Regions from separate parts of the Homo sapiens genome. Here all the other regions are linked to region 3. The links are contacts of gene promoters, found by promoter capture Hi-C in blood cells and fetal thymus (Javierre and others, 2016). All regions are on one chromosome and are shown on one strand. The core of a region is centred on a gene start or on the middle of the fragment in contact, and the rest is flanking DNA. Distances in the headings are between cores, read along the strand shown.

What was found. The method cuts DNA at HindIII sites, captures the fragments that hold promoters and counts their contacts. A CHiCAGO score of 5 or more calls a contact.
Region 1: a contact is called between a fragment that was not itself captured here and the fragment with the promoter of CCT6B in region 3, in 3 of 17 cell types (M1 macrophages, M0 macrophages and total CD4 T cells). The highest score is 7.1, in M1 macrophages.
Region 2: a fragment that was not itself captured here is called in contact with the fragment with the promoter of CCT6B in region 3 in 4 of 17 cell types (M2 macrophages, activated CD4 T cells, total B cells and 1 more); the score reaches 6.9 in M2 macrophages.

Annotation. Positions count from the first base shown.
Region 1 is chr17:34,558,109-34,561,468 of GRCh38, forward strand. No RefSeq gene overlaps it. Among named protein-coding and RNA genes, the nearest start is that of TMEM132E-DT, 20 kb to the right of the region's middle. The HindIII fragment of the contact is 255 bases long and covers 1,345-1,599 here.
Region 2 is chr17:34,538,543-34,541,836 of GRCh38, forward strand. No RefSeq gene overlaps it. Among named protein-coding and RNA genes, the nearest start is that of TMEM132E-DT, 39 kb to the right of the region's middle. The HindIII fragment of the contact is 6,842 bases long and covers 1-3,294 here.
Region 3 is chr17:34,959,535-34,963,174 of GRCh38, forward strand. CCT6B (chaperonin containing TCP1 subunit 6B) reads right to left here and starts at 1,926. Exons shown (of 14, transcript NM_006584.4): 1 at 1,723-1,926; 2 at 53-116. The coding sequence starts at 1,859. It overlaps ZNF830 (zinc finger protein 830), which reads left to right and starts at 2,006. Exons shown (of 1, transcript NM_052857.4): 1 at 2,006-3,640. The coding sequence starts at 2,033. The coding sequence ends at 3,151. RefSeq lists a silencer at 1,456-1,750 and enhancers at 1,470-1,519, 1,620-1,839, 1,890-1,969, 2,050-2,299. The HindIII fragment of the contact is 8,368 bases long and covers 1-3,640 here.

The DNA.
Region 1 (3,360 bases), core at 222-2,721, 400 kb before region 3:
TGTTTACTGTAAAACAGTATGCTGTGTTACTCCAGCAGCAGCCTCATATATCTCGTTTACTGCACTTCTTGATTGCACTGTTTTCTCTTGTGCTTGATTTAACCTCACAATGTTTTGTTCATCATAGCCCCAAAGTGAACAAAATCCACTGCTAATGTTGCCAGTAAGAGGCCACATCAAGTGATTGTCCTGGAAACAAAATTAAAAGTGATTAAGGACTATGAAGGTGGAGAATCAGTGATGGTTACTGCTCATCAGTCAGGCATGTGTCATTCCACCATAGCTACAATCTTGAAGAACAAGATCAAAGTGACAGAAGCTGCTAAAGGATCTGCTTCATTGAAGGCAATGATACTAACAAAAGTTCTAAAAGGGCCCATATCAGATAGACAGAAATTTCTAATGACTTGATTTGAAGACTAGACACAGAAGCCTATCCCTCCCAGCACCGTGATGATCACTGCCAAAGCAAAAATTTCGTGATGTTGAAAGAAGATGCTGGACCCAACTATGATGTTGAATTTACTGTTAGCCCCGGGTGGATTAAATGATTCAAGAATCATTATTTATTACATTCTGTGAAAGTGAGTGGTGAGTTTTCAAGTGCTGATGTGATGGCAGCTGAAGAATTTTTGAAAACTCTGGCAATCTGATCGTGGAGGAAAATTACTTGCCAGAGCAAATCTTCAATATGGATGAAAGCTGCCTATTCTGGAAATGGATGCCTGAAAGGACTTTAATCCTAAAGAAGGTCAAGTCAATGCCAGATTTCAAGACTTTTAAGGACAGGATGACAATCTTGCTTGGGGACAATGTTGCAGGCCACAAATTGAAACCCTTTGTGATCTGGGACAGTGAGAACCCCAGGGCCTCAAGCATATCAATAAGCACACATGGCCAGTGTACTTCAGGAGCAATAATAAGTCATGGATGACCCAACTCCTCTTCCAAGACGCCCCCTTGAGTTGCTATGCCAGCAAAATAGAGAAATGCTGTTTGGAGAATAACATACATTTCAAGATTTTGCTTATTGTTGATAATGCTCCCACACATCCCTCTTTTATTGGTGATCTTCATTTCAATATCAACGTGGTCTTTCTGTCTCCAAACACCACCTCTTTGATTCAACCAATGGAGAAACGAATTATAGCAGCTTGTAAGACCTACTGCTCAGGGAAGATCTTTGTTCAGGCTATTGCTACAACTAAGGAAGGCACTGAGAAGATATTGACGCAATTCTGGAAAAATTACATCTTTGCATCGTGAACCTTGCTTGGGCTTAAGTGATGTCATCAATGAGTGTATGAATGGCATCTGGAAGAAGACACTCAAGAGGTTTATCCAAGCTTCAAAGGATTTTCCAAGCATAAGGGGATTAAAAATCAACAAGGCTGTGGTTGAAATGGCAAACAGCTTCAACCCGGGTGTGGATGAGGATGACATTGAGGAGCTCTCAGAGGTGGTTAATGAAGAATTGACTAAGGAGGAATTGTTGGAACTGGAACAGGATCACATAGCTGAAGAAGAGGCAAGAAAAAGGGAAAGTACAGGAGAAGAAAAAGAACCCTGAAGAAAATTCACAGTGAGGAGTTTAGCAGAAGCTTTTGCAGACCGCAACAAGCTCCTTAAAAGGTTTGAAAATGTAGACCCTAACAACAAAAGGTTTGCATTAATAGAGAGGAATGTTCATGGTGCATTATTTGCTTACAAGCAAATCTATGATGAAAAAAGAAAACAACCAAGCAAACTACCATGGATACGTTTCTGAAAAGAGTGACACTACCTCAGGAACAGCCTCAGGCAGGTCCTTCAGGAGGAATTCCAGGAGAAAGCACCATTATCACAGGAGATGACAGCTCTATACATGTTATTGCCCCTGAAGACCTTCCAGTGCAACAAGATGTGGAGGTGGAAGACAGTGATATTGATCATGCTGACCCTGTGTAGGCCCAGGCTAATGTGTGTGTTCATGTCTTCACTTTTAACAAAAAACTTTATGAAGTACAAAAGAAATAAAAAATTTTAAATAGGAAATCTCTTATAGATTAAGGATATAAAGAAAGAAGATATTTTGTACAGCTATACAACATTTGTGTTTTAAGCTGTTATTACAAGAGTCTGAAAGTTAAAAAAAAATTAAAAAGAGTTTACAAACTAAAGAAGTTACAGTAAGCTAAGGTTAGTTTATTACTGAAGAAAGAAAAATATTTTTAATAAATTTAATGTAGCCTAAATGTACAGTGTTTATAAAGTCTACAGTAGTGTACAGTACTGTCCTAGGCCTTCAAGTCCATTCACCACTCACTGATTGACTTACCCAGATCAGCTTCCAGTCCTCCACATGCCATTCATGGTAAGTGTTCCATACAGGTGTGCCATTCTCTATCTTTTATACTGTATTTATACCCTACCTTTTTTCTATGTTTGAATATGTTTAGATACACAAATACCACTGTGTTAAAATTGCCTACAGTATGCAACATGGTAATATGCTGCACAGGTTTGTAGCCTAGGAATAAGAGGTCATACTATATAGCCTAGGTGTGTAGTAAGCTATACCATCCAGGTTTCTGTAAGTACACTCCATGATGTGTGCACAACAATGAAATCACCTAATGATACATGTTTCAGAATGTATCTTCATCACTAAGCAACGCATGACTGCATATACTTTAAATAGCATGTCACACTCACACATAAGTGTGCACACACAGACATTTAACACTCATGAACTCACATAGCTCACACATCAGTTTACTTATTAAAGGCCCGAGAAACATCCTGCAGCATTACATGCTACCTTGCATATGCCACTTATCACCACTCAGGAGGCTTGAGACTATAAGTATAAACACTGTACATTTAGACTACATTAAATTTATTAAAAATATTTTTTCTTCAATAATAAACTAACCTTAGCTTACTGTAACTTGTTTAGTTTGTAAACTCTTTTTAATTTTTTTAACTTTCAGACTCTTGTAATAACAGCTTAAAACACAAACGTTGTACTACCATATAAAGTTTATATGGTAGTAATTAAGAGACTTACTCTGGAGTCAGATGGCCCGGGTTAGAATCCCAGTTCTGCTATTTATAATCTGATCTCGGAGGTGCTCATGAGAATTAAACGAGGTAATGAATGATGAACTTAGAATGGTATCAAGCACATGAAATGCACTCAATAAACCCTATAATTATTATACGGTTTGCAAATATTTACAGTGCCCATTTCACAGGTAAGGAAATTGAGGCCCAGAGAGTTGAAGTGATATGTCCAGAACCATAAGAATGATAATAAAGATGGCAGTGGTGGGGATAATTGTGGTGATGATGACAATAATGGTGACGATGGTGATGACA
Region 2 (3,294 bases), core at 598-3,097, 420 kb before region 3:
AGTTCAAGACCAGCCTGGTCAACATGGTGAAACCCCGTCTCTACTAAAAATACAAAAATTAGATGGGCGTGGTGGCACATGCCTGTAGTCCCAGCTACTGGGGAAGCTGAGGCAGGGGAATGACTTGAACCTGGGAAGCAGAGATTGCAGTGAGCCAAGAATACACCACTGCATTCCAGGCTGGGCAACAGAACGAGTCTCCATCTCAAAATAAATAAATAAATAAATAAATAAATAAATAAATAAATAAATAAAATTTTAAAAAATAATAATTAAAAAATTTCCTTAAAAAACCCAGATGCATAGAGAATACATAGACAGCAAAACTATTTAACTATTAAGCATGTAGGCCAAATGCAGGGCATTTGGGCATAGGGAAAACAGCAGACAGACTAACAGTGGATGATGGGAGGATAGATGGATTGGCAGAATTAAGATTTGTTGAACACCTAACGTATGCCAAGCACTATGTAGGTTCTTTACATAGGTTATCTCATTTATCTCCAAGATAACCCTGGGCAGCAGGTATTCCTTCTCATTGTTACTGATGCTTACATATCTAAAGTCTGGAAAGACTATGTCAACCATGACATCCCTATCTACACATATGTAACATTTTCCAGAGTCTGCCTACTGCCATCTAAACCAGATTATATGGGGAACATAGTTTCATAATATGCTTGTATGTAAAACCTTATTTACAGTTGGCATTTGATATTAACCTCTAGTTTCTCACTCAAGTAGAGGCTTATCCTTTTTACATGCACAAGAATACAATTTTCTTCTTTGTTTTCTCTTAAAAGATCAATAAACATCTTGTTTGCCCTTAACAAAAGTTATGTGAATTCTCTACAATCAGCACTTATTTCCTTTTATTAAGAGGATATTTCTACAGTTAACAATAAAGTTTAGTAACATTGGGTCTTTATGATCCAAAAACTCAATGACTGCACAACAGGGATATAATAACAATAATATCTACTATTTATTAAACCCCTCCTGCTTATGATCGGCTTCATAGGAGCGCTGTTTATCACTTCTTATTCCCATTTTTCAGAAGAAGAAACTAAGGCATAGTTTAGGTCAGGATTGGACGTAAGACCTTCCTGGCTCTGAAGCCCAAGCTCTCTGCCTGCCCTCACACTGTCTCTTACTCGGAGTGGTCCTTGGCACTCCCTGGAATGTCAGCAGGGTCCAGTGCACGCGCTCACGGTTCCCATTCTACCTAACTACTCTCATTCCACGTCAGAGTCGTGTTTCTCCAGGTCTCCTGCACCCTTCCATCAGCAGGACCCACCTTCCCTCCAGCTCCAACTTAACCCTGGGCTTAGAAGATGTGGCACAAGAACTTCAATGCTAAAGGTAGATGGTTGTTGACCTGGCTCAGGGTCAGCGGACTTCTTCTGTAAAGTGTAAGATAGCAAATATTTTAGGCTTTGTAAGATATACAGTCTGCATCACACTTACTCAAATCTGCTATTGTAGCACAAAGGCAGTCAGAGACAAATACATTACAAAATGGATGTGGCTGTGTTCCAATAAAACTTTATTGACAAAAACAGGTGGCAGGCCAGATTTGGGCCCCAGGCTGTAGTTTGCCAACCCCTCACCCATATGATCTCTAGGGTTTCTTTTCTTTTCTTTTCTTTTTGAAATGGAGTCTCACTCTGTTGCCAGGCTGGAGTGCAGTGGCACAATCTCGGCTCACTGCAACCTCCACCTCCCGGGTTCAAGTGATTCTCCTGCCTCAGCCTCCCGAGTAGCTGGGACTACAGGCGCCCGCCACCATGCCCAGCTAATTTTTGTATTTTTTAGTAGAGATGGCGTTTCACCACATTAGCCAGGATGGTCTTGATCTCTTGACCCTGTAGATCCACCTGCCTCGGCCTCCCAAAGTGCTGGGATTACAGGCGTGAGCCACCGCACCCAGCCTGATCTCTAGGGTTTTTGTTAACCCGCTGGTGTTCCGTGGCTTATGTATGAGAGAAAGGCCTAGACTAAAGATTGAAAAATGGTGATCCGAGGCCACATCCAGCCCGCTGACAGGTTTTGTTCGACCCAGAGTGTTTATTTTTGTGATGATTTTTTAAAACATACCCAAAAGCAAAGACGAGCATAATTAACCTGCATATACATACCATCCAGCTTCCCTATCACCATTTTGTCAATCTCATCTCATCTATCCCCAACACACCTTTTAGTTTCTGAAATATTTTAAAGCAAATCCAGACATTATATTATCTCACCCATAAATACTTCAGTGTGTCTCTCTAGCAGACAAAGACTTTTTAAAACCGTAACCACAAAACCATTATCACCCTAACAAAATGAAGAATAATTCCTTATTAGTGTCTATTTAAATTTTCCTAATTGTCTCAAAAATGTCTTTTTACAGGTGGTTTGTTTGAATCCAAATAAGGTCTATGCATTGTATTCATACAGAGCTTTTAAATTTTTGAATTAGTTGTCAACATGTGAAAATCTGGATTTCACATAAACATCAGGTTTTCAGCTTGTCTTGAAAAAAACCTGGAAGATCTTGCAACTTTGCCGCCTCCTTCCCCAGCAGCAGGAGATCAGTCGGCACACAATTTAGACAATGACCTGCCTTCTCCTGCCCCCACTATGGCCCCCACATTGTCACCCCTTCAACAGAATCCCTGAGGGCATTAGAGTTTGCCATTTCTACTTTTGCCGATCCACTCGCTCCCTCTCCCCTCCTATACAAAGTCACTCGAGCCATTCCCTGGCCTACTTTGCCCTCCACCTATGCCAAAGCTGCCCCTTTATCATTATTTTTCCTCCTTCAAAGCAAATTTTCAGAGTGTATCTGATTCCAGAAGGGTGAGCAGAGAAGAGGGATTTGCCCAGCATGATCAGCCACCCCTCTAGCCCCTTGGGGTGGCTGCTTACAGGGAATTCAGGAAAGCTCCCCAGACCCCCTACACACACACCCTCCCACGCTGGCTCAGTTTGTGCCTGTTGCTCACAGAGCACAGAAACCTTGCTTTCAGGTGGAAAGAGAACAAGCCTGCCTCAAATTTGCTGTGTGACCTTGAAGAAATCACTCTCCCTTTCTGGGCCTCAATTGCCCCTTTTATACAATGAAGGAGTTCATGAGGGGGAAGGTCGGGGAAGAGGATGGTCCAAATTGAATTGCCAGGTGAGACATGAACATTCTGGAGCGGACAACCTTGTGATCCTGGGATTCTGTTGGCCGTACACGGCCTCTTCACCTCATCACTAGGATGGCCAAGGGAGGAGGGAGAGGGGAGGGGACATGAAATGGATCAA
Region 3 (3,640 bases), core at 676-3,175:
GCTTCTAATTAAGGCTTATTAAGGTTTATTAAAGTCAGCAGCATCAGCTCACCATCTCATCGAGCAGCACATTGCCATCTTTGGTGAGTTTGATGTCACCTGCACCAGAAACAAGCCTGTTCAGAGAAGAATGATATTAACTTCATGTGGTAGGAAGACATTCCCAGTGCTTGCCACTCCATTATCCTTAATAGAGGGAACTGGGCTCGGAAAACTTCCACTGTACCATGGGAATATGCCATGGTAATTACCACCATTTGCAGCTCACAGAATCATTTCTCCCCAGATGGACAGATTATGGAGATTTCATTCCAAATGGACTATTTACAGGTTTAAAGATAAAAGCACTTGATGAGTTACGAACTGTGGTTTGGTCAAAGAATACTTGGAAGTCTACAAAGCACAAATTCGCAAATTTCCTGCAGGTTTTAATTTTGGTGAATGTTTTCATTCATTCAGTCACTCAACTTAGTTTCCCTCATCCCTGCATTTATTAGATCACCAAGTTCTATCAATTCTACTACCTAAATATCTCTTGAATCTGCCACCTTCTCTCCATCTCCACTGTTATCATCTCTACTTTGGATGGCATCCGGATATCTCCAAACTTAAATATACCCTCCACACATTTTTCTTTCTAAAAGGCAACGTGATTCAGTCAGTTCCCTGATCAAAAGTCCTCCAATGATTTTTATGTTTTCCATCATTTTCAAGTTAAAATCCAAACACAGCAATGACATACTTGACCTTTCCCAATATCTTCCCTGCCTCATCTACTTTTCCACAAGCAAATCTTCTGGTTCCCTTAATATACCATGTTTTGTTTCGTTTCTGTTGGATTTGCACCATTGGTCTTTCTTATTCCTGAAATTACTTTGCCCAGGCCTTTACTCCCTCTTCCAACTAGTGAAGTCTTATTCTTCTTTCAAGACTGATCAAACATGTTACTTAAGATGCTTTTCCTTCTGCCATCAGTCCCTTTCTTCAGCATAATTATATGCATCTATATATAATTAGCACATCCTACTCTACCACATCCGTCTCTACCACATCTCCTTAAGAACAGAAACCGTTATCTTGATCATTTCTGTGTCCCAACAACTGGTACCTAAGTGACTTATTTTACCATTAATATTATTTTGTTCATTACTATGAGGATGTGTCTCTCCTCTTATACCCTTTTGCCCTCACTGGTCTCTTTTCCTCACTCTTGTCTATAGAAAAGGGTGCTTAATATATACTGAAAAGATGAATAGATCTGAACAACCATAGACACGGGGTATTCAAGTAGAACTTGGATTTGACCCCATGCCTTCCTGGCTCCAAAGCCTGTGTCCTCTCCACTACAATACATTGCCATACAAAAAACAAAACTACTTGTTGAATTTATGGACCAAGGGTATACAGTCTTAAGGAGCAGAGGAGTTAAATGCTTTGTTTCCAATGAGACACTAAATTAACTGACTTTCTAACTGCATATGAACCTTGACGACAAGTCGGGGGTCGGGGAAGCGCCACAGCTTCACTCCCGGGGCCCTCTACTAGGGGAGGCTTTTCTCCTCCACCTGCACCAGGCGAGAAATACCCCCAGAGCAGGGATGAGAATGAGGGAAATCAAGCTCGCAAGAACATCCACAGCGCTACGCGGACGCCTGCCTCAGAGGGCGACAGGACACCAACGGGCCCCTAGCCGCGTAATGGCCGCTCCAACCGCTGTCTCACATTTTCATGGTGCCTTTAGGACCCAAGTTGGTCCGCAGCACATCCTGCAGCCCTCGGGCGGCGCATATATTGACAGCCAAAGCTGCCCGGGCCCGCGCCACCTCAGCCTTGGAGTTGACGGCCTTTATCGCAGCCATAGCCTAACCGTTCAGAGGGAGAAAAAAAAAAAGCCTTAGTCGCGATTCTGAGCAAAAACGGCAATGCGACGCCACGCTCTCTTGAGCCTCGGCCAATCATCGCCCTTACAGGAAGTGACGTTATCATGCCTCGCCCGACGGAAACCAGAATCGTTTTGGGTCTGGTCGCCAAGATGGCGTCCTCCGCCTCCGCCCGGACTCCGGCAGGGAAGCGAGTGATAAATCAGGAAGAATTGCGGCGGTTAATGAAGGAGAAGCAGCGTCTGAGCACCAGTCGGAAACGGATAGAATCTCCATTCGCGAAGTACAACCGTTTGGGGCAGCTGAGTTGTGCCCTGTGTAACACTCCGGTTAAGAGCGAGCTCCTGTGGCAGACTCACGTCCTGGGAAAGCAGCACCGAGAGAAAGTGGCCGAGCTGAAAGGCGCGAAGGAAGCCAGCCAGGGTTCGTCCGCCAGTTCAGCGCCTCATTCCGTCAAGAGGAAAGCGCCGGACGCAGACGACCAAGATGTCAAGAGAGCGAAGGCCACCTTGGTGCCTCAGGTACAGCCCTCCACATCTGCGTGGACCACCAACTTTGACAAAATAGGAAAGGAGTTCATTAGAGCGACTCCCAGTAAGCCTTCAGGACTCAGTTTACTCCCCGATTATGAAGATGAGGAGGAGGAGGAAGAGGAGGAGGAAGGAGATGGAGAAAGAAAAAGGGGGGACGCCAGCAAGCCGCTCTCCGACGCACAGGGCAAGGAGCACTCAGTTTCCTCTTCACGGGAGGTAACAAGTAGTGTGCTGCCAAACGATTTCTTTAGTACTAATCCTCCCAAGGCCCCCATAATTCCTCATTCAGGGTCAATTGAGAAAGCAGAAATACATGAAAAAGTGGTGGAAAGGAGAGAAAACACCGCGGAAGCGTTACCGGAAGGTTTTTTTGACGACCCTGAGGTAGATGCAAGAGTACGAAAGGTTGATGCTCCAAAAGATCAGATGGACAAAGAGTGGGACGAATTCCAAAAAGCCATGAGGCAGGTCAACACTATTTCCGAAGCCATAGTTGCCGAAGAGGATGAGGAGGGACGGTTGGACCGCCAGATTGGGGAGATCGATGAGCAGATAGAGTGTTACCGACGGGTGGAAAAGCTACGGAATCGCCAGGATGAAATAAAAAATAAACTTAAAGAAATCCTGACCATAAAAGAACTGCAGAAAAAGGAAGAAGAGAATGCTGACAGCGATGATGAGGGGGAACTACAGGATTTGTTGTCTCAGGATTGGAGGGTGAAAGGGGCATTGTTATAGGGTTTTAAAGACCCAAGGTTTCTAACAGCCTCTGCTGTTGTATAAAAAGTGCTGTCTCTCAGTAGTATAGCGGTTACTTCATGCCTCAAGATTTGGGTACCTGGATTGCTAAACTGGATTGTTGAGATAAAATGAGCCAGTGAGCTACAGCACTTTGGAAAATTTGTGTAACATGTTTTTGAGGTAAAGTTGTTTTTGAAATTTCTGAAGTGTTATATACCAAAATGCCAACATTTCCACGACAGACTTAACTGTATAATTTCGTTGTAAAATCTGTAAGTTGTAAATATTGTACATAGTTAAATCTGTATTCTGTTTTGAATTTTTTTAATTAATAGAAAGACCAACCGGCAAACTTTCAGATGAATGCTTACTGTGGTATTTGGAATGTATGTATCTTCTGAACCCTACATCAAGTTGAAAAGGTTTGTTTTCTTGTTTCTTTGGTTTTTGTATGGTTTTTTAGAACACTTCATAAACACATAAGTC